Linked DNA regions of Homo sapiens: regions 2, 3, 4, 5, 6 and 7 are each linked to region 1. Evidence: promoter capture Hi-C in 16 types of primary human blood cells and fetal thymus (Javierre and others, 2016). All regions are on one chromosome and are shown on one strand. Each heading gives the region's core, a stretch centred on a gene start or on the middle of the fragment in contact. The rest is flanking DNA. Distances are from core to core; before and after follow the strand shown. Region 1 holds the start of LINC01888 (long intergenic non-protein coding RNA 1888). Region 2 holds the start of PLEK (pleckstrin). Region 3 overlaps PLEK (pleckstrin). Region 4 has its middle 48 kb from the start of PLEK. Region 5 has its middle 37 kb from the start of FBXO48. Region 6 has its middle 14 kb from the start of FBXO48. Region 7 overlaps APLF (aprataxin and PNKP like factor).

Region 1 (3,091 bases), core at 340-2,839:
ATTCATCTAGGATAAGACATGATTAAGTGATACAGAATGGATTTATGTTATATGCCCATTATGCAGATGGTGAAAAGTGAGCCCAAAATTTTTTTAAAAAATGAGTATAACAGTAGCTTAGTATGAACAAATCCAAGGATTTTGAGAATTCCTAAATATATGGGGACACTGTTTACTTGCTTTAAGGATTGACTCTAAACATAGGCAAAGAAGATAAGCACTTGAGGGCCTGATTTAAAGAGTCCCGAGAATAGCTCTGATGAAAATCATCTCTTTTTCAGACTCATGTTAGATTGAGAAATCCCTACCAGTAGCCTTTGGAATATTAACCACAAACGTGATATTTCTGGGAGACTCCATGAAGCCTCCATTAATCGTTAGTATCATCTTTATATTAGTTATCTGCTTCCCAGCAGAAAGCTGTGTAATGAAGGAACGAGAGCCTGGCCAGATAAGCAGTGCTGTGGGTGGAGGAACAGATCAAGAGTATGGATGTTGGCCAGGCACAGTGGCTCACGCCTGTAATCCCAGCACTTTGGGAGGCCGAGGCGGGCAGATCACGAGGTCAGGAGTTCGACGCCAGTCTGGCCAACATAGTGAAACCCTGTCTCTACCAAAAATACAAAAAATTAGCCGGGTATGGTGGTGTGCGCCTGTAATCCCAGCTACTCTGGAGGCTGAGGCAGGAGAATCACGTGAACCTGAGAGGCGGAGGTTGCAGTGAGCCGAGATCTCGCCATTGCACTCCAACCTGGGTGACAGTGGGAGACTCTATCTCAAAAAAAAAAAAAAAGTATGGATGTTACCTAGGAGTATTGCAGTGTGGGCCCCTGGCTGCCTTAGGTGGGGTGAGGGTGCAAAAATCAGGCCTTAAAAAGGGAAACGGGGACTCATCATCAGGGTGGACGGAGAAATGGTTTGCCCCCACATACACCTGATACCTGCTCAAAGTTGGCACTTGTCCTCCTTCCTTCTCTCTGTTCTCCCTTATTGATGTCCTTTCAGTCCTGCTGAGGCCAGCCCATGCTAAACATCACCCTGGTTCTTGGGTCTTTGTTCAGCATCAGTAGCAATATCATGACAATAACTACCAATAATAAGCAACAAATACCATTTTAATACTTTCTGGTGAGCACTGTATCCATGTCATTTCCTTTAAATCTCAAATCAACTCTTTTCTGATTGCAATCAAACCTGTTTTACTGAGGTCTCAATGTGGCTTAGCTAGGAACTGAAGCGTATATACAGTCTACACAAGGCTACATTATCCTTGCCCTCACATAGGGAGGAAGTACAACATAGAAAATGACCCCTTGGCAGAGATGGACTAAAGCAAAATCTGCAAAGACTTTTTCTTTAAAAGGCTGGCAGGGATTCTGGAAAGAACCACTAACTGCCTTGTCTGACTCAGCATCAAGATGGAAAAATATACAGAGGCTGTTGCCTTCCCCACAGCCTAAGTCAAATCCACCTGCTTGCTCTGAGGCTGTCTGGGAGGCCACACATCACCATGCCCTTTCCTGGAGTCAATTCTTGGTCCCATGTCATTAGCCCCACCCTCGAAAGAACTCTGGGAATGGGGTTGCCTTGGAGTCCCCGGTTCCGTGTGGCTAAAGAGTGAGCCTCTCATATCTCCATGCTGAATTTCCTCACTCATTCACAACCCTCCTTTCCATTTCAAGAAATCTTTCTGTTCCCACAAGCCTGGGAGGGCCTTTGAGTGGGGCATATTGGGTAAGTTTGAAGGAGTACTGCCAGTGAGACCTTCAAAAGACTCTGTGTGAATGGGCTGGTGTTGGTGGGAGGAAACAGGGTCACAGATTCCCCTTCCCTTCCCCCTTGTAAGATGTGTCATCAGTTAAATATAGGCTCTGGCCCTGTGGACGTTTACAGGCTAAGACAGCCCGCCCTGACTGGGGCTCACAGCTTCTGAGAGGAGGACACTGGGATGTCTTCAGCCCATTTCACGTGGGCTGACTGTTTCCAAAACACTCCTGGTGGGTCAGCGAGCAGAGGAAGTGTTACCATGTGATCACTTTAGAAACACCCACCTAATGACGCACTAACACGGATTTGCCCTCTGTTTTTCACATTTGATCATTCCTGACACTTTGGCGAGGAAACAAAACCCTATTTCTCTTAGAAGTCACTCCTTCCCTGGATGTGAAAGAGGGCAGTGGTTTCCCTGTCAGTCCTCTTTTAGGGAAAGATCTGGGTGAGCACATGACCCAGCTCAGCTGGTCTGGGGCTGGACACAGACACAATTGTGAGAACTTGAACTGACTCACCAGGAAGCAGGTGGTTGGGACTAGGTACTGTTGTCTATTTCAGTGCTAGATATTGCCTTTAATGAAAAACTAGCCCCAATCAGAAAAAAGCCAACACCACGCTCTGCAATACTAAGTTGACTCACCTGTTGAAATGCTGTTTATTAAGCAAAACCAGTATCCTCAGAATTCCAGCTTTCACTTTCAAGTTTCTTATGTGGGATTTCATAGTATTGGGCCCAGTGATGTGTACATCAATGGTTTGGCTTGCTGTTTATGCTACTTATTTACTCGAGCAGTCACTCTGGTGTGTTCCCATGGCTTTTCTGAAAGTATTAGAATACAGCTCCCAAAGAATGTGAGTGCTATTGGAGAAATAAAATACATGGAAATCATATGGCATCCAGCAATTGCTATGCCTATCTTGAGATAGCTGATCCCTAGATAAGCTTGGTAGTTGTGTTACCAATGATGTCTTTTCTTAGTACACATAGATTGTACTCAAGGAATAGCAAAATGTTACAACACTGATTCTTCCTCCTATAGTTAATGGCATTTTAAAAGAGTTATGCTTGACTAAAGACATAGTTTTTAAAAATGCAAATATTGAGTGCTTTCAATTCCCTAAGCATGGTGTTTTCTGCTTTACCTGCAATGTATTAATTAATTTTCACAGAAAACTATGAGGCAGCGGCTACTATCATCCCCATTTTACAGATGAGAAAACCGAGACTTAGAAAGGTTAAGTAATCTGCTCAGGCTCACAGTTCATATCCCATTTCTAAGAGACATTTTTTTTTCATTCTAATACTTTTGAAATTCAG
Region 2 (3,091 bases), core at 280-2,779, 470 kb before region 1:
GAGGCCGTAAGTCTGAAATCAAGGTGTCGTCAGCACCATGTTCTCTATAGCAACTCTAGGAGAGAATTGTTGCGTGCCTCTTCCAGCTTCTGGGGGTTGCTGGCCATCCTTGGCGTTCCTTGGCTTGTAAATGCATCACTCTGTTGTCACATGGCTGTTTTCTGTGTGCCCTTTTCTTATAAGGACACCAGTCACATTGGATTAAGGGCCCACTTGTTTCAGTATGACCTCATCTTAACTAATTATATCTACAATGACCCTATTTCCAAATAAGGATGCATTCTGAAGTGCTAAGGGTTAGGACTTCTTTTTTGGGAGATCTAATTCAATTTATGACAAAAAAAGTTAACATAAATTGTTCAAAAAAGAATGCTATGGCGAAGTAAGTTTGGAAAACACCATTATAGGATTCTTTACTGTAGTACTTTGGCGGGGCGAAGGTCTTTAATTTGTTCATCATTTAGAGGAGTTGCCAACCTGGGATTATTTTGTAAAGTTTCTCAAAAACCTGTTTGATGATGGACTTCTTTTTACAGGCTGACTGTGAGATCAGCACTCAACGTGGAACACCTGTTCTCATGCCTGATGTGAGGCAGTGGCACCCTAGCACATCCCTCCCTGGTTCTTCTGCTTTCCCCTGTGACCTGCAGCGTCAACTTGAGACAACTTTTCTTCTCTGAGCCTGAGTTTCCTTACTCTAAGATAAGGAAAATAATATACTTTCCCTATGGGTTTGATGTGTGGACTCATTTTTGTTGTTGTTTGTTTTGAGATGAAGTCTTTCTCTGTCGCCCAGGCTGGAGTGCAGTGGACCAATCTCGGCTCACTGCAACCTCCGCCTCCCAGGTTCAAGTGATTCTGCTGCCTCAGCCTCCCGAGTAGCTGGGACTACAGGCACACGCCACCATGCCCGGCTAATTTTTGTATTTTTAGTAGAGACAAGGTTTCACCATGTTGGCCAGGCTGGTCTTGAACTCCTGACCCCAGGTGATCCATCTGCCTTGGCCTCCCAAAGTGCTGGGAGTACAGGCGTGAGCTACCATGCCTGGCCGATGTGCAGACTAATTTAGTTTAAAATAAGTAGGCTGAGAAACACTTGATACAGGGCTTGGCATAGAGAGAAGTAGGCATTCATTTAGTAGTTAACTTTGTTATGCTAACCAGATGGTTCTGAATTTCTTGGCATTTTTATTGGGCATTTCCAGGATCTCAAGAATAATCCTTACTCAGGACAATTTTCACCAACAAGTTTTTCTTGTTCATCTTCCTCTTCCTTTCATCACTTCTTTTTCTCTTTAAAAGAGGGATTTTCTGTATGGTAGTAAGAATTTCCCTTAGGTAAATATTCAACCCAACTGTGGTTTTAATAAGTCTCCAGCATTAGCAAGGAATGGGTGGTTTACTCTGCAGTTCCTTATTCTGATCTTCCAACCCAGTGAGGGGAAGAGGATGTGATCATGCGACCGCCAGCAGAAGGGAAATTGTGAAAGCGACCTGCTGTAGAAAAGGCGGCCCACAGCCACCTCAGCATGCAGAGGAGGCCCAGCTGCTGAGAGGAGTTGCCTGAGAGTGACCTTTGCATCTGCCTGTCCAGCCAGCATGGAACCAAAGCGGATCAGAGAGGGCTACCTTGTGAAGAAGGTGAGCGAAGGTGCCACTTACCAGGGTGTCAGTGGACATGGGCTGGGGAGACTTGGGTTCAGCTCCACCGGCTACCTGCTCATCTTAGGAATGTTTCCTGTTCAACCAGTTGGGTTGAAATAGGGGAGCGTGGTAGCACATAGAATGTTGGAGTGGGGTTAGGGGAGTGGGGATACTCATCCAGCCCCGGCTTCCTTACAGTTTGATATTACGGGTCTGAGAATTCCAGATGGCAGGGCCTGGAAGGTGGGGATCTAAGCTAACTCCCTCCAGATTTAGAATATCCTTTTTAAGAGGCACACAGATGTGTTCTGTCAGAAGATATACTCCTCTTCTATGGAGGTTTCTTGGAGGGACTATTCATTTTTTATTTAAATTCCACTTCCCCTCAGTTCTTTTTTTGGGAGGCAAGGGGAAAAAAGTGATTAAAGAGTTGATATAATGATAGAGTAATTACGGCTTATTTCTTGGGCCATCTTCTTGGAATTGACACGTTTAAAAAAAACCTTATCTTTTTTTAATTGGGCTGAAATCTCTTCACTCACAATTCTTAGTAAATTTGCATAATGTGGCATCGAGGTGGTAGATGCACCATTTTAAAGATTAGGGTACTGAAAAAGGCTTAGCCTCCCTGGTGTGCATCATGAAAATTGAATTTTCTTAGTGCTGTTTGTCTTTCTTCGGATGCTGAGTGTGTGCTGTGTGGTTGTGAAAGCTCCCCGGGATGTGAATTCACACATAGGACTTGGTGTCCTGTGGGCAACACCTATATACACAGATATGCTCACACTAACCTTAGTGAGTGGATTGTTTCAGAAATGAGCTGAACGTAGTGCCTTCCTTCAGGTGCTTAGCTTTTTAGTTGAATGAACAGTGAATGTGAGTCTGTTTTAGGCTACTCATTTGTTTCACGTTTTAACCTACAATGTTCTACCTGTAAGGGGGGTTAAATAGCACACATTGCTGCCTGCTTCCATTTTGACTTCAGGCTGGAGGGACCCTAGGTCATCTGGCCTAATTCCTTCATTTGCAGAAGAGGAGACAGACCCAGAAGGCTCGGTGATTGCCCCAAGTCACATGGCTATGACAGTTGTGACCAGCCACTCCTTCTCTGATGCTTAGGTTTCTGATTCATGGCACTGAACTTTGTTCATTACTCCAGCATTTTCTTAAAGCAGATTTATTCCAAGTTAGGATTTGTAGTGTATTTGTGATGGTGAGAGCTATGAGTTGGTACTGGAGAATAAGTGGGCCCTCAGCTGCTAATCTCTGTAGCCAGCTGTGCTTCGAAACATCCTTTGGAAAAGACACACTTATACATAGAAGTGTAAAAGATTACTTGCAATAGGCACCAATAATAATTGGCGAGACCTGGTAATAATTAATATTGACTTATTCCTTTCCTGATCACTTGTGCTAGTATCCTGAGAAGAGCAAGTGAATAGGAACA
Region 3 (3,091 bases), core at 376-2,875, 440 kb before region 1:
TAGGCTCCACGGGACTGGGGGATCTGATTTATTTCATGTTAGGACCCTGAATGTCCATCTTAGTGATTAATGGAATGGGCAAGGAGGGAAGAACCAGAGAAGAGCCCATATTTACATTTATAAAGAGGGACTCTGGGCTGGGATAGCTGAAAGGAGGTATAGGTATGGATTTTGAGTTTCACAGGGGGAAGTGGGACATTCGAATGGAAAAATTACCTTCATATCAGGTTTTAAGAGAACAGTGTCCTAAGAAATATATGGCAAGAATTTATAAAGAATTCATGGACTATTATAGTATTTTTTTATGACAGGGTGACCAGCTGGCTAGATTAAAAGAAAGGCATGGGGCAGAGCCAGCCTTATGCCGGGAAGGCTCGGGCAGTTGCCTACGGACAGTTTGCCCGCTGCTGCTTTCTCGTTGGTTTTGCCAAATATTCCTATGTTCCTGGCTCTTTGATTGCAGGTGCTGGAATGTGGCTGTTAAGACAAGAAGAGTAACTTGGGAGGAAATTTCTTTATTTTGTTGATTTCTTCCATAATTCTATATTGTTATCAGTTATTTCTTGAATTAGTTGATTGGGCAAACCCTAATCTAGAATGGGGCTCTTGGAAAGCCAAGGATGAAGGCTAACAGTAGATAAAGTTGGGACTGGACTGGAGCCACGTCTCAGTGAAGCAGCCCAGTAGGAGACCTGGGATGGTCAAAAATTGTGTGTGGGTAATGAGTGTCTGGATGTATTTTGAAGACAATAGGGACAAGGATTGAACTTATGTGTTTTCCTTTGCCTTCCTTTGTCTGGCCTTTGATAGGTACAATTTAGCCTTAGCTAGCTCGGTTGGTGCACATTTGGATCTCCCAGGGAACTGTTAAAACTGCATGCCAGGCCAATTTAATCAGAGCCTCTGGATTTTTACAGCTCCCAAGTGATTCTGATGTGCAGCCAAAGCTGAGAACCACTGAGCCAGCCTTTTTCTTAAAAGCTAATTTATTCTATTATCAGTATACAAGTTAAATAGTCTTTCTTAGAAGCTTCCTTTTTATGTGAAGAAAACAGAAATCTACGTGCATTCAGGAATTTTGTTCTTTTACAATATTCTTTCCTCTGAATTTTTTTTCAGAGGTTGGGGAGCAAAAACCTCTTCGATTTGAATTGACACTTCCCCTTAATGTTTCTAATCTCTTAGCTCAGTGGTTAGTAACCATAGTTTACATCAAAATCACCCAAGGGATTTTCAGAATTTTAAAAACTTTTTCTTAAAATTCCAAAAGTAAGCCTCCCTTGTGTTTACTGCTGGGAGTTAGCCAGGATTAACTTCATAGAAGGCTTGTTATAATGGGAAGCCTCACAGATGGGAAGTAGCTGTGGCTAACTGGAGGCCATTATCCCTGCCCCATTATTTTCTCATCCCAGGATAAATAATCCTACTTGGCAGCAAGTTTGAGGATGAATGATCTTAGATTATATTCAGTATAATCCCTTTTTACATAATTGTTTCTGTTATGACAATGAATAAAGCATCTGCTTGTTTAATTCTCAACCACATTTAGATTCCTTGAGGGAGAGGAACAATGTGTTATATATGCTTCTCTTGTATCTGCTGCAGAGTTCAGCATCCTTCTTGATTTATCATAGGCAATGAACACTTGGGGAGCTAATTAAGTCAAATATAAGTAGATGGCTTTGACAGTTCAGTAACAATTCTTGGAAACCTGAGGCATACATGCATTTCTTAATACTCCTTAGAAAATGCTCATTAAGTGAAAGATGACCAGAAATGTACCTGCTAACTTCCAACTCTTCAACACGTCACATTGTGATGTCAGTGAGGGCTTAAAGGGAATATGGTGGTTGGCTGATTTCACATCCTCCTGTTACCTTCCTCTTCCATTGGCTCATAATAAGTTGGTGATTGTCCAGCAATTGCATAATACAGCATGACATGTGTGTCTGTCAGTGAAGAGGAAATGGTATGGGGTGGCAACTTTAGTGTCGTTATTCTGAAGGGCAACATTAGTTAAGGCAAAGAGCAGCAATGTATACTTTTGGAAGTCTATGCTTTGCAAAAGCCATTTTGGACATGATATAGCAGGTAGGAATATTTTCTGTCCTTGCATATGACTCTGCAGGGGTTCCAGCTCCATCCTTCAGGAAGTAGAAAGTTCTTTGGAAGTGAGTTCCTTCACCAAATGTTTTGCCAAAAAACTTAGGCCCATTTCTGAAAGCTTCCTTGAAGCACCTCTGGATTTATGAAGGAGGCACTGTTTGCTAAGACCACACATGTTTTATTGCTTTCAGCACAAGTAAAATGAAAAATGTTGGAAAATTTGTATACATGCTTGCCAATATGTGGTGCTTTAGAAATTACAAATAATATTTCTTGTATTGGCAAGATAGAAACTCCGTATCTTTTAATATAATACTATTTTTGGCTTCTGGAGTTAAGTCATTTGAATTTCCTGTGGGAAATCATAGAGTCAGGTTTACCATGACAGTTTAAAATCTGCTACACACTAATGGAAATAACTTGGTAACTCACAGCAAGTACAAACAGATATGAAGCAGCTGCTATATGCCAGGCACTGTGGCCCTGGGAAACAAAGATAAGCAAGACACAAATCCTGCCCTTAAAACTCAGTCTAGACAATGTCAGTGTTTAATTCTGTTGGGAAAGGCCAAGTCGTCACCTTCTTTCTTCTTCTTCTTTCTTTCTTCCTTCCTCTTTCCTTCCTCCTACCTTCCTCCCCCTTTTCTCCTCCTCCTCCTTCTTCTTCTTCTTCTTTCTCCTCCTCCTCCTCTTCCGCCTCTTCTTCTTCCTTCATCATGTCTGTTACAGCAACAGGCATTTCCATTCCTACTGCAGCTACCTAAGGTTTAGTTCCTAATGATTTTATGCCTGGATTATTGTGATCCTTCCCTAATGAATTCTTTTTTACTTACCATCTTTTCCTGGGCTTTCCTTTAATCTAGCCAGCTGGTCCATCCTGCACTTTGTCACCATATTAATCTTCTTAAAATGTAATTGTAATTCTTTCACTTCCTACTCAAAAGCCATCAACAACAAACCCTGCCTTTTATTTCCACTAAATCTC
Region 4 (3,091 bases), core at 247-2,746, 420 kb before region 1:
GCAAACCACCGTGGCACTTGTATCACTTGTATACCTATGTAACAAACCTGCACGTTCTGCACATGTATCCCAGAACTTAAAGTATAATAATAAAAAAAAGAAAATATATTACTGATTTAAGGAGAGATATTAAGCTTCTCTTGTAGATACACACAGAAATATACACACATACAGTGGCTAAAATTCTACCCGTAGAGAACGGTTTCCAAAAGCAGAATGAGGAACTTCCTTGGGTTAAAATAGCAACAGTGAGCCAGGCAAGGTGGTATATGCTTGTCAGCTACTTGAGAGACTGAGATAGGAGGATCCCTTGAGACCAGAAGTTCAAGGCTGTAGTATGCAATCATCATGCCTATGAATAGTTACTGCACTCCAGCCTGTGGAACATGGTGAGACCTCATCTCTAAAAAACAAACAGACAAAGAAAACCCTAGTCTCTTCGTGTTTGTTTGTAGCAAGCTAAACAGAGGGTCATCATCATTTCTTTTGGATGTTGTGTGAAACCTGATATAGACAATCCTCATCAGCCTTAGGGTAAAAAGAAAATCACTAAAGTAATTACTTAATATTTTGGATTCCATTTTGGGTTCTGCTTTAAATAAGGAATTTCAGAACTGCAAGGTGTATTGGGAGATGTCATAGAGGAAAGCGTAGAAGAAAGAGAAAGAAAGTTATGAGGAAGTTAATTTAGCTTCTTTAAAAAAATAAACCTAGTGTGAAATTATAGCCCTCAGTGGTTTTGGCTCAGTTTCAGGGTAAAGGGAAGGTAAAATTTAGCTGTCACTGAGGGAGAAAAAAGAGGATGGGAGGAGAGTTTTTCTAACACCACATTTGCTATTTAATTTGAGCTGCAGTAAGTTTCAAGGGGAAAATGCACAAGGCTGTTAATGGGAGGTCAAGTGGTAGAGTGGGAAAGGCAGTGGTCTTGGAGCCTGGAGCCTCAGTTTGAATTCCTGGTTTTACTGCATTTGTGACATATCTTGAGTATCAGTTTCTTTGTCTCTAAAACGAAAATAGTATTCTTCTCATAGGCTTGTTGTTAGGACTAAATGAAATAATACCTGTAAGTCACCTGAAATGGGTGGCACTCCACAAGTTCTAGTTTCCTTTCCTCTGACCCCTCTGCTGTAGAAGGTACTCATGGCAATCTACACTCTGTAGTAGTGGCTTTCAACTTTTGGTCTATGTCAGAATTGCCTGTGGAATTTTTTTCATGGAACTTATGCCTGAGGCCCAACTTTAGGAATTCTGATTTCCTAAGCATGCGGTAGGGTCTATATACTTGCACTGCTGCTTTTTAAAAAAATGATCGGTAATTTCTACCAAAATTAAAGTTAAAAACTACCGATAAATTGCTTGACTCTCCACTGCTTACAGTTCAGACACTGATGCAATAGCCTAGCATTTAAGGGCCTTCACAAACTGGCCCTGACTTCCCTTTCCAGAAGGATTTCCCCTCTGCTCTCCTTCACTACAGACATACTGGCCTCTTGTTGGTCCTTGGAGGATTGTCAGCTTTTGCAACCTTGACTTGCCTATATAACCCCATGGCCTAGAACATTCTCTGCTCCAGCTCTCTGTTTCTCTTATTCTTCTTTTTTCTTGAAGGCTTAGCCCTCCCTGTTATTCATTGTACTTTTCCCCACTTCCATGATAGACCGTCTGCCACAGAATATCTCTACCATCTATTTGCACCAGGCATTTACAAATAGTCACATATCGTGTTGGATGTTTTAGGGTTGGTGTTTTTTGGGGTCAGAAAAGTATTCGTGCTTCATAATTTTTTCAATCCTTTCTGATGCTTAACATGGTGCTTGTGCATAGTGGGTACATTATCAATAGCTGATGGAATGAAGTAATTACTGTTATCATGAGGAGGCTCCTTATACAGGAATACCTTGTTTTACTGCATGTTGCTTTATTGTGCTCCTCAGATATTGCTTTTTTGTTTGTTTGTTTTTTGTTTTTTTGTTTGTTTTTTTTTTTTTTTTTTTTTTTTTACAAATTATAGGTTTCTGGCGACCCTGCATGGAGTAAGTCTATCAGCACCATTTTTCCAACAGCATGCACTCACTTTGTGTCTCTGTGGCACATTTTGGTAATTCCTGCAATATTTCAAACTTTTTCATGCTTATTATATCTGTTATGGTGATCTGTGATCAGTAATCTTTGAGGTTACTATTGTTATTGTTTTGGGACACTATGAACCATGCCCATCTAAGTCCACAAACTTAGTAAATATCTGTTGACTGCTCCACTGATTGGCTGTTTCCCCATCTCTCTCCCTTTCCTTAGGCCTCACTATTCTCTGAAACACAACAATATTGAAATTAGGCCAATTAATAACTCTACAATGGCCTCTAAGTGTTCAAGTGAAAGGAAGAGTCGCACATCTGTCACTTAAAGTCAAAAGCTAGAGATGATTACTCTTAGTGAGGAAGGCGTGCTGACAGCTGAGACAGGCTGAAAGCTAGGACTTGTGTGCCAGACAGTTAGCCAAGTTGTGAATTCAGAGGAGAAGTATCTGGAGGAAATTAAAAGTGTAACTTTAGTGAGCACATTAATGGTAAGAAAGTGAAGCAGCCTTATTGCTGCTATGGAGAAAGTTTTAGTGGCCTGGATAGAAAATCAGGCCTGGCATGGTGGCTCGCACCTGTAATCCCAGCATTTTGGGAGGCCTAGGTGGGCAGATCGCCTGAGCTCAGGAGTTTGAGACCAGTCTGGGCAACATGGTGAAACCCAAATAAAAAAAATACAAAAAATTAGCCGGCTGTGGTGGCATTAGCCTGTGGTCCTAGCTGCTTGGAAGGCTGAGGTGGGAGGATCTCTTCAGCCTGGGAGGTCAAAGCTGCAGTGAGCCAAGCTTGTGCCACTGCACTCCAGCCTGGGTGACAGAGGGAGACCCTGTCTCAAAAAAGAAAATCAAACCAGTCATGATATTCCCTTAAGCTAAAGCCTAATCCAGAGCAAGGCCCTCAACACTGGGGCAAGACTCTCCACCAGCAAAAAGATTGTGACTCACTGAAGGCTCAGATGATTGTTAGTATTTTTTAGCAATAAAGCACTTTTAAATGAAGGTTCGTACATTGTT
Region 5 (3,091 bases), core at 275-2,774, 400 kb before region 1:
AATTCTCTGCATACAGCCTCACCCTGCACTTGCACATAGCTCTTCTTCCGTTCTTCTAAACATCACTCCTCCAAAGGTATGAAGTGGTCAGCTGGTTTCTCTGGAAAGCAGCTGAGACAGAAGTAAGTGGAGGAGGTTTGATGAGAAGGGGAAGGAGTAATCCCATGAGAGATAAAAAAGGAAGGAAGCAGAATTTGGGCAGGAAAATCCTTCGGACTGCAATGCAAATCTGACACCAGGGTTGGCCTTGAAAGCAAAGGGCAGTCTTTCCTACAGACAGAATTTGAGTGGGACACCTGGTGATAATATGTGTATGGACTCATACACAGTGATGAATGGCCTGTGCAGTTGTTCAGGGGCCTTTAAGGAAAAAACTGTAAGTTCAGAGACAGGAAGTCTAGTTAACTTTTAAAACGAATTCTATGCTAAATTCCAGGGATATCCAATCTTTTGGCTTCCCTGGGCCATAATGGAAGATCAAGAATTGTCCTGGACCACACATAAAATACAAGAACACTAACAATAGCTGATGAGCTAAAAAAAAATCACAAAAAACTCTCAGTGTTCTAAGAAAGCTTATGAATTTGTGTTGGGTCACATTCAAAGCAATCCTGGGTCATATACAGCCCACAGGCCATGGGTCAGACAAGCTTGGTATACTCCTCTAGCTCTGGCTCAACTAAACTCAAAATTCCTTTCTTCTCGCAATAAAACCTGGCACTTGATAAGAAAAACATTGGCTTTCATAACTATTATCTCTAAAGTTGACATCAATTTTTTTGCAGCTGAGTTCTTCACTATTCTCTGAAGGGGCTAAGGGAGTAAGAAAGATTGCCAGGAATAAAAAGTACTTCTGACTTATTTTAAATCACTATCTTGCAGGAATTAATTATATGATTTTAATTATGTGAAGTTTAAATTCAGGCAATATTAATCAACATTTATAAAAGTCAGAATAGAGATTACTTTTGGAGGCTGTGGTATTGTGATACATTAAGAATATAAGAAACATATATTAGGTCTTCATCCCCATTTCCTGGCACATAGCTCCTAAACACTTGTAAAATCCTGGATGATAAAGGCAAGAGGAATGTCTTTTGTTATCTATATTAATTATTGTATATTATTTCATCATATGTGAGTTTGTTTTCATGAAGTGACTCTTGGAGGCTGGTGGTTATCAGAGGAATCACATGGTTGATTACAGGGTTGGAACTTTCAGCACTCCCTCCCTCCCCCAACCTCTGGAGAGGGGAGAAGGGCTGGAGATTGAGCTCAGTCACCAATGGCCCATGATTTAGTCCAGGGTTCCCCAACCCCCAGGCTGTGGACCAGTACCAGTCTATGGCCTGTTAGGAACTGGACTGCAAAGCAGGAGGCGAGCAGTGGGTGAGCAAGGATTCCCGCCTGAGCTCCGCCTCCTGTCAGATCAGCAGCAGCATTAGATTCTCGTAGGAGTGTGAATCCTATTGTGAACCGAGTATGCAAGGGATCTAGGTTGCGTCATCCTTATGAGAATTGAATGATAAATGTAATGTGCTTGAATCGTCCTGAAACCACACCCCCCATCTGTGGAAAAATTGTCTTCCATGAAACTGGTCCCTGGTGCCAAAAAGGTTGGGGACCACTAATTAGTCAATCATGCCTACCGAATAGAAACTCCATAAACCCCCTAACTGACAGGACTTGGAGGACTTCAGGTTGGTGGAAACACAGACCTGCTGGGAGGGTGCAGCATGTGGAGCAGGACGGAACCTCTCAGCTCCACCCTCATACTTTGTCCTGTGTATCTCTTCATCTGGCTGATCTTAAGTGGTATCCTTTAAAATAAACTGCTAATTGTAAGTAAAGCACTTTCTTGAGTCCTGTGAGCCATTCTAGCAAATTATCAAACCTAAAGAGAAGGTCATGGCAACCCCCAATGGATAGCTAGTTAGCCAGATGGACAGGTCACAGTTTGGGACTACTGACTGGTGTCTAAATTTGGTTTCAGCCTTGCGAGGCTGAGTCCTCAACCTATGGGGTCTGCACTAACTCTGGGTAGTTAGTGTCATGAGTAAATTGTAGTACACCCACTTGGTATCTGGAGAGTTGGAGAATTGCTTAATGTGAGGTAAACTCCACACATTTGGTGTGAGAAGTATTTTGAATGTATGAATTTTTCTTTCCTTTTAGGGGTGCAGTGTACAAATTGGGCAGTTGCAGGAGGGAATCATAGGCTGCTGCTGGGATGTGCTATGACTTGGTCTATGAATTAGCTACACTCAATTAATATGTGGAAGACAACTCTTCAAGCTGTACACTTAAGATGAGTGTACTTTTTGCATTTAATTGTATATTCTTTCTATAAAAATTATTGTATGAGTTTCCTATTGTTGTAACAAGTAACCACAAATTTAGAAGCTTAAAACAACACAAATTTATTATCTCACAGCTCTGGAGGTTATAAGTCTGAAATGGGTCTCGAGATGTTGGGAGGGCTGCATTCCTTGATGGAGGCTGTAATTTTCTAATTTTACTATTCACTTATCTTTCAACAGATGCTCAGTGATTGTCAGCCACTAAAAGCCTCTAATTACAACCTATCTGCACTTCTAATTCCACCCTATTCTCCCCATGCAGGTAGATGACTAGGTTAGGCTTTTATTTTCAAGAAGGCTAAAGAATAAGGTACATTCAGCTTGTTAAAGGCATATTCAACTTATTGATACTATCCTGTTGCCTATACATTTACAGACATTCATGTGACTATCATTATTATTAGAGAGAATGTTCTAATCATTCTCTCTCTATAAAGGTGTTTTCTCAGGGCCCACTGTATGGTTAGAAATTGGAAAAGACCTTCCAGTTTCCTTCACAGATGATTCTCCTCACATTCTCTCCATTTGCTTTTTTAATATATTTTTTGAGACAGGGTCTTACAATGTTACCCAGTCTGGAATTCAGTGGCGTGATCAAGTCTCACTGCAGCCTCAACCTTCTGGGTTCAAACAATTCTCTCATCTCAGCCTCCCAAATATCTGGAATTACAGGCCTCTCGATATATTGTCCAGGCTGGTCTTGAACTCCTGGGCTCAAGTGATTCTCCCAT
Region 6 (3,091 bases), core at 277-2,776, 380 kb before region 1:
TGTATATTATATATAATTTTATATTATATATAAAATGTATATTATATATAATTTTATATTATATATAAAATGTATATTATATATATTATATATAAAATGTATATTATATATATTATATATAAAATGTATATTATATATATTATATATAAAATGTATATTATATATATTATATATAAAATGTATATTATGTATATTATATATAATGTATATTATGTATATTATATATAATGTATATTATATATAATATATATTATATATAATGTATATTATATAATATATATTATATATTATAATATATAATATACATTATATATTACATATTATATATAATATATTATATATTATATATTACATATTATATATAATATATTATATATTATATTAAATATATATTTTATATATTATATATTATATATTATATAAAATATATATATTATATATTATATAAAATATATATATATTATATTATATATTATATTAAATATATATTTTATATATAATATATATAATATATAATATATAAAATATATATTATATATTATATATAAATTATATATATTATATATAAAATATATAATATATATTATATATAAATATACATATTATAGATATCTATTCTTTATCCACTCTTCTTGGTTGATGGACATTTAGGTGTTTTTTTAAAATGTAGTATAAACCAGTAGTTCCTAACAAGAGGGATTTTCCCCCAGGAGACATTTGGCAATGTCTGGCGACATTTTTGGTTGCCAGCACTTGGGAAGTGGTGCTACTGGCATCTAATGAATAGAGGCCAGCGGTGCTGCTAAACATTCTACAGTGTATACGACAGCACCCCTGCCCCTCCCCCAAACAAAGAATTATCCAGCCCAGAATGTTAATAGTGATAAAGTTTAGGGACCTGGTATAGACAGAGATAAAGCACACATGGTTAAAGTTAACAATTGGTTAATCTAGGTGATGATGCCATATTCTAGACTTTGAAATTTTTTGTAAGAGTGAAAACTTTCAAAATAAAACATTTAGGGAGAAAGCACGTTTAAAAATATATAATAAAAGTCTGAGAGAGAAAAAAAAAAGTTGAACTGATGAAAAAAGTAGGCCATACACAGGAAAACAATGGCAAAAGCAGTCCTTTTTATTTTCTTCACTAACCAATGAGAATAAAGACAGGAAATTGTGCTCAATCTACTTGTTAGGCAACAAAAAAACACAACCACAGCAATAAGTGGGGGAGATTCTCACGTGTGATTTTTAGAAAGCTTCTTTTATGGTTTTACATATTTTCTATCAGGATTTCATTGTGTGACAAATGGACTGTATAATTTTGTCATATTAAAAGTAAATCAAAATGAGCAAACTGGGAAACCAGCAGCTGGGTTTTTTTCCCCTACAAGGCACAGAAGACCCATAGCAGAAAAGTAGGCCTCAGAAAATGATTATTAAAAATTTCTTTTGGGCCAGAACAGTGGTTCATGCTTGTAATTCCAGCACTTTGGGAGGTTGAGGGGAGAGGATTGCTTGAGCTCAGGAGTTCGAGGCCAGCCTGGGCAACATAGTGAGACCCAGTCTCTAAAAATAAATAACTAAATTAATTAATTAAGAAAAATTTTTTCTTGAGCAGTTAATGTTTATGATAATACAGTATGATTGGTGTGGTACTTGTAAAACTGCAGTTTTATCTTTTTTTATTTCCATCCGGCCCTGACTGGGTAAGGACAAGGAGGTATTGGAAAATGCAAACAGGTTCATGAAAAAAGTCAGTTTTACTTGTGGTAGAACTCAATATAAGGATGTCAAGCTTTTATTAGAAACCCAACCCGCATGCCTTGTTTATTACCTTCTTCTGTCTCAGCTGTTCTTTATAGTTTTTACTCTTTCTTCCTTTTCCAGCATTATTTTATTGTGTAGAGTAATACTAGAATGGGTTGTTTTTTTTTTGTAATACATTCCGCTGTATTTTCCATGCCCAGTAATTCTTATTTCTCTGCAGCTCTCTGCCTGGAAAGACAGGCATCCAGTGCTTTGTGGGTCTGGTAGGTACAGCCGAGAATAAAGAAGTCAGAACTCAGCTTTGAATTTCAAAAGACTTTTTTCAAGCATAGAAGACTCAGAAGTCTTAACTGCTAGGCTTTCAACTGAGAAACGAAAATAAAATCCAAAGGTCCCCCCTGCAACTGACTAAAAGGACTCCCCTCTTGGCTAAGGAGATCCTAGAGAAATCTTAAAAGCTGAATTCCCAGCCATGATGGATTGGGAGGTCAGACATGCCCTGTTATACTCCCTCCCTTGCTACTTGCCATTATACTTCCACTCCTAAGTGTTAAACAGAAACAGGCCCTTTCTGAAGACTTGCTGGACTCTTCTTCCTTTTTGCAGTTTGACACAACAACTGACCATCATTCCTTCCTGATAAGAGGCCACTAACCATGGACTGGTTCTGGCCGGTTTACAGAAGCTGCACACAGGATGCTTCTGTGTCCTCTGTTTCAGCTTTTGACGTATAGAGCCTAATTTTAATACATTTAAATGTTAAGTTTCCATCCTAAAGTGAACATAGGATGTAGGTAACATACATGTTAGCTTGCTGTGCATGAGTGCACTCCCCTTTTGTGAATATTCATAGCTCCTCCTATAGCCTGTTAAATGTATATACTTAGCTGACCCTTTCAGCCTAAATTCCTGTCTTACCCTTCCCTCCCTAGAAGTACCTGCTTCTGGTTTCTGCCAGAAGCTACCCTTCCCAGGCTGTGGGATGGCCAGCCTGCAGGCTGCAACCCTTTATAAGAAATAAAGCTCTCCTTTCCACATTCATGAACCTCGTGATTCTTCAGTTGGCACAACAAAATGATAGAGGCACTTGAGGAAGAAAAAGGTCTTTTTAATTCCAAATTATTCCCTTTAGAGAATCTAGAACAGTGTTTATTAAATGAACTACCAGATATAGGAAGGAAGAAAAAGATAGGATATGAATGAAGTGCAGTACAGCATTCCCACCCCAAAAGGGATTGAGAAGTTTGCCAGTTGGCGTGAAGAAGAGAATCCAAGAAGAGTAAAGGAGGGTTACATGAGGCATTTCCAAGAGGTCCTACCT
Region 7 (3,091 bases), core at 377-2,876, 360 kb before region 1:
AAATCGCCTTGTAGTTTTTTCGATTTTGGAGCTGACAGATGCACTCGATTCTTCTCTGCACTGGTTAAAACACAACATAAGGGCTCCTGTTTCCAACAACAGCAATTCCAGTGAGATTTATTTTTGTATTGTGAGAGAGCGAAGACTGAGTTCTAAGTGGAAAACTCAGTAAGTTCATTGTAAATTGGAATCGGAAACGATTAATATAAATAAGGATGATTTTGAACTTTCTTAATTGGGCATGTTTTTCTGAGACAAGCTTCACAAACCTTGATGGCCACACAAACATAAAAGTTTATAATCTGACTGTGTAAAATAGTCTTGGTAGTAAAACAGTTTGACAATGAGAATGGTTTTGTATTTTTATGGTGGTAGGAAAACACAACAGAGAAACCTGTCACAGAGAACAAAGGACAATGAAATTTAATCTTTCTTGTTCCCTTTGCTTTCATGTGAGTCATCAGAGAACCCCAGGTCTTTGTTTACTAGATTTTGATTCTGCTCCATGATTGGCATCAGTTAGAAGGTTTTACAGCAGGATTAATCTTCAGAGAACTTGAGTTAAAACAGCCAATCCAAAAGATTACATATTGTGTGATTCCATTTATATAACATCATTGAAATTGCGAAATTGCAAAATTTCAAAAATGGAGAACAGATTAGTGGTTGCCAAAGGTTAAAAAATTAGGCAGCAGGGCAGAAGGGAATGGATATGGCTATAAAATAGCAACATGAGGGATATTTGTGGTGATAGAAATGTGCTTTGTCTGGACTGTGTCAGTATCAATATCTTAGGTTGATATATTGTACTATAGTTTTGTAAGACGTTACCATTAGGGGAAACTGGATAAATGGTACAAGAGATATTTCTATATTATATCTTTCAACTACATGTGAATCTACCATTATCTTAAGAAATTTAATTTAAAAGGGTTTTACAGTACGACATGTCAAGCACTGTTAGGCCAAAGTATTTGCTTTATGGGTTTTAATTAAAGCTGTTACACTCTTAAATGAAATCTACTATTTCTGATTTCAGATTTTTCTTATTTTGTTTTGACAGCAGGGATTATATGACACATTTCTTTATGATCTATTTTCCTCCTAGGAAACAAGATAGCAAAAGATATCTAGTGATACTTTCTCAATGTAGATGTAATTAAATTGACTGCTTTGATTAAAAGGAGAAGAGTCCTCAGTTGGGGGAACAGGGAAGGTCATAGGCTTCAGTATAGACTCTTCAGGTGGCATCAGTTCACCACTTCTAAGAATGTTGTAAATGTTCTACAAAGTTTACACAAAGTAACCATCCCCTGACCTGGCAGCTCTATACTTTTAACTGCTTGTTGCAGAATCCTGGCTGTCCTGGAATGCTGTTCCTACCTGCTCCAACATAGGTTTCTTCCCTTACGTTTCTTTTATTTCTAGATTTGCCCTTCCCTCATTTTATTATTTAGCCTACAACCAGTGCCTAGCACACAGTAGGCCTTTAACACGTGATTTCTTCCTTCCATTTCGGCATCTCAGCCTCTCATTCACTCTACCCTCAAAAAGAGCCTAATTGTGACTTAGATATGAAAAAGGGTTATCATTGAGTTTTGAAGTGAATTTAAATATAGTAAAGATGCAGTCCTACCAACTGCTAAATCTTGAGTAGCATTCATAATGAATTAAGTTTTAACATTTTTCCTGTTTTGTTGATTGATAATTCGCTAAATTCAGGAAATAGCTGATAAATATATACTATGGTTGGATGGGAGGGAGTATAGGAGAAATAAAGGTGAATGAGAAACAAGTCTTTGCTCTCAAGAAACTTATAGTTTTGTAGGGTTAAGAGACAAATAAACAAGTATTAGTAACTAAATAAGGCTACAACCTCACATGGGGACTGGCGCCAGGCTGACACTTGGAGTAAGCGAAGTGGGAGGGAAGAAGAAAAACAACACAGGGACAGTGATAAATGACAACAGTTCTGCCTCAGTGTTGGGAAGGCCACAAGGAGAGGGTCTCTATGCAATCCCTGCTACTTTCCCCTATTCCCAGTTGGTAACAGTGTCATATTGTTTTTTTAAGAATAGTAAGAAATTTGAATTTTTAGATATAATCACTGATTTTTAAAAGGTCACATTTTTATTAAAAGTTTTGGTTAAATACCATGAGTCTGTTGATGAAGAGTTAAATTCTATAAAATATTTCAAGAGATTTATTCTGAGCCAAATATGAGTGACCATGGCCCGTGACACAGCCCTCAGGAGGTCCTGAGAGCATGTTCCCAAGATGGTCAGGGTACAGCTTGGTTTTTATATATTTTAGGGAGGCATGAGACATCAATCAAATACATTTAAGAAATACATTGGTTTGGTTCAGAAAGGCAGGACAACCCAAAGCAGGGGCTTCCAGGCTATAGGTAAATTTAAACATTTTCTGGTTGACAATTAGTTGAGTTTATCTCAAGACCTAAGATCAAAGGAAATGTTCAGGTTAAGATAAAGGATTGTGGAGACGAAGTTTTATTTTGCAGAGCTCTCAGATAGCGGACTTCAGAGATAGCAGGTTGTAAAATGTTTCTTATGAGACCTGAAAGAGTGCCTGGCTCTTAATTGATTATCTCCTGGATCTGGAAAGGAAGGAAGGAAAACAAAGGGGAAAGGGAATTCTCTATAGAATGTGGGTTTTTCCCACAAGAGACTTTGCAGGACAGTTCCAAGGTATGGCAAAGAAATATATTTTAGGGTAAAACATTTTGATTTTCTTCCTTGTTATGCCTGAGTCAGACTGGAAAGTAAGTCACGTTATACAGGGTTAAATAAAACTCATCTGATGAGAATTTATGGTTTGTAGGGCATGACTCCCCAGACCCCTTAGAAAGGAATTTGGGCAAGATAAAAAAAAATAATAATCAGAGCTTAGTCCTCAAGCTAGACAGAATGATGTCACAGGGTACAGAGAGGTATAAGAAGGAACCTGAAGTTAAGAGGTGGGATCAGGGAAAGAAAGCTTCATGAACTTGGTAGCATGTTGAGTTTGACTGTGGTGTGTTGGGACAGTTAGAATTTTGGTAGGTGGAGTGGGTGGTGTAAGGAAGGGCTTG

What was found. The method cuts DNA at HindIII sites, captures the fragments that hold promoters and counts their contacts. A CHiCAGO score of 5 or more calls a contact.
Region 2: the fragment with the promoter of PLEK here is called in contact with the fragment with the promoter of LINC01888 in region 1 in 1 of 17 cell types (neutrophils); the score reaches 6.2 in neutrophils.
Region 3: a fragment that was not itself captured here is called in contact with the fragment with the promoter of LINC01888 in region 1 in 3 of 17 cell types (monocytes, naive B cells and naive CD8 T cells); the score reaches 9.2 in monocytes.
Region 4: a fragment that was not itself captured here is called in contact with the fragment with the promoter of LINC01888 in region 1 in 1 of 17 cell types (monocytes); the score reaches 5.5 in monocytes.
Region 5: a fragment that was not itself captured here is called in contact with the fragment with the promoter of LINC01888 in region 1 in 4 of 17 cell types (total CD4 T cells, M2 macrophages, naive CD4 T cells and 1 more); the score reaches 5.7 in total CD4 T cells.
Region 6: a fragment that was not itself captured here is called in contact with the fragment with the promoter of LINC01888 in region 1 in 16 of 17 cell types (naive CD8 T cells, total CD4 T cells, naive CD4 T cells and 13 more); the score reaches 18.6 in naive CD8 T cells.
Region 7: a fragment that was not itself captured here is called in contact with the fragment with the promoter of LINC01888 in region 1 in 16 of 17 cell types (activated CD4 T cells, naive CD4 T cells, total CD4 T cells and 13 more); the score reaches 17.5 in activated CD4 T cells.

Annotation. Positions count from the first base shown.
Region 1 is chr2:68,830,419-68,833,509 of GRCh38, forward strand. LINC01888 (long intergenic non-protein coding RNA 1888) reads left to right here and starts at 1,590. Exons shown (of 2, transcript NR_183895.1): 1 at 1,590-1,734. LINC01890 (long intergenic non-protein coding RNA 1890) reads right to left here. Exons shown (of 4, transcript NR_183884.1): 2 at 2,414-2,632; 3 at 942-1,087. The HindIII fragment of the contact is 9,437 bases long and covers 1-2,714 here.
Region 2 is chr2:68,363,753-68,366,843 of GRCh38, forward strand. It overlaps PLEK (pleckstrin), which reads left to right and starts at 1,530. Exons shown (of 9, transcript NM_002664.3): 1 at 1,530-1,641. The coding sequence starts at 1,600. It overlaps LOC101927723 (a long non-coding RNA gene), which reads right to left and starts at 2,652. Exons shown (of 2, transcript NR_187652.1): 1 at 1,663-2,652. RefSeq lists an enhancer at 1,490-1,569. The HindIII fragment of the contact is 25,233 bases long and covers 1-3,091 here.
Region 3 is chr2:68,389,412-68,392,502 of GRCh38, forward strand. The region is part of intron 6 of PLEK (pleckstrin); the gene reads left to right. Among named protein-coding and RNA genes, the nearest start is that of PLEK, 26 kb to the left of the region's middle. The HindIII fragment of the contact is 1,194 bases long and covers 1,029-2,222 here.
Region 4 is chr2:68,411,239-68,414,329 of GRCh38, forward strand. No RefSeq gene overlaps it. Among named protein-coding and RNA genes, the nearest start is that of PLEK, 48 kb to the left of the region's middle. The HindIII fragment of the contact is 2,729 bases long and covers 133-2,861 here.
Region 5 is chr2:68,428,270-68,431,360 of GRCh38, forward strand. No RefSeq gene overlaps it. Among named protein-coding and RNA genes, the nearest start is that of FBXO48, 37 kb to the right of the region's middle. The HindIII fragment of the contact is 1,753 bases long and covers 649-2,401 here.
Region 6 is chr2:68,451,545-68,454,635 of GRCh38, forward strand. No RefSeq gene overlaps it. Among named protein-coding and RNA genes, the nearest start is that of FBXO48, 14 kb to the right of the region's middle. The HindIII fragment of the contact is 539 bases long and covers 1,258-1,796 here.
Region 7 is chr2:68,469,628-68,472,718 of GRCh38, forward strand. The region is part of intron 1 of APLF (aprataxin and PNKP like factor); the gene reads left to right. Among named protein-coding and RNA genes, the nearest start is that of APLF, 3.6 kb to the left of the region's middle. The HindIII fragment of the contact is 2,738 bases long and covers 258-2,995 here.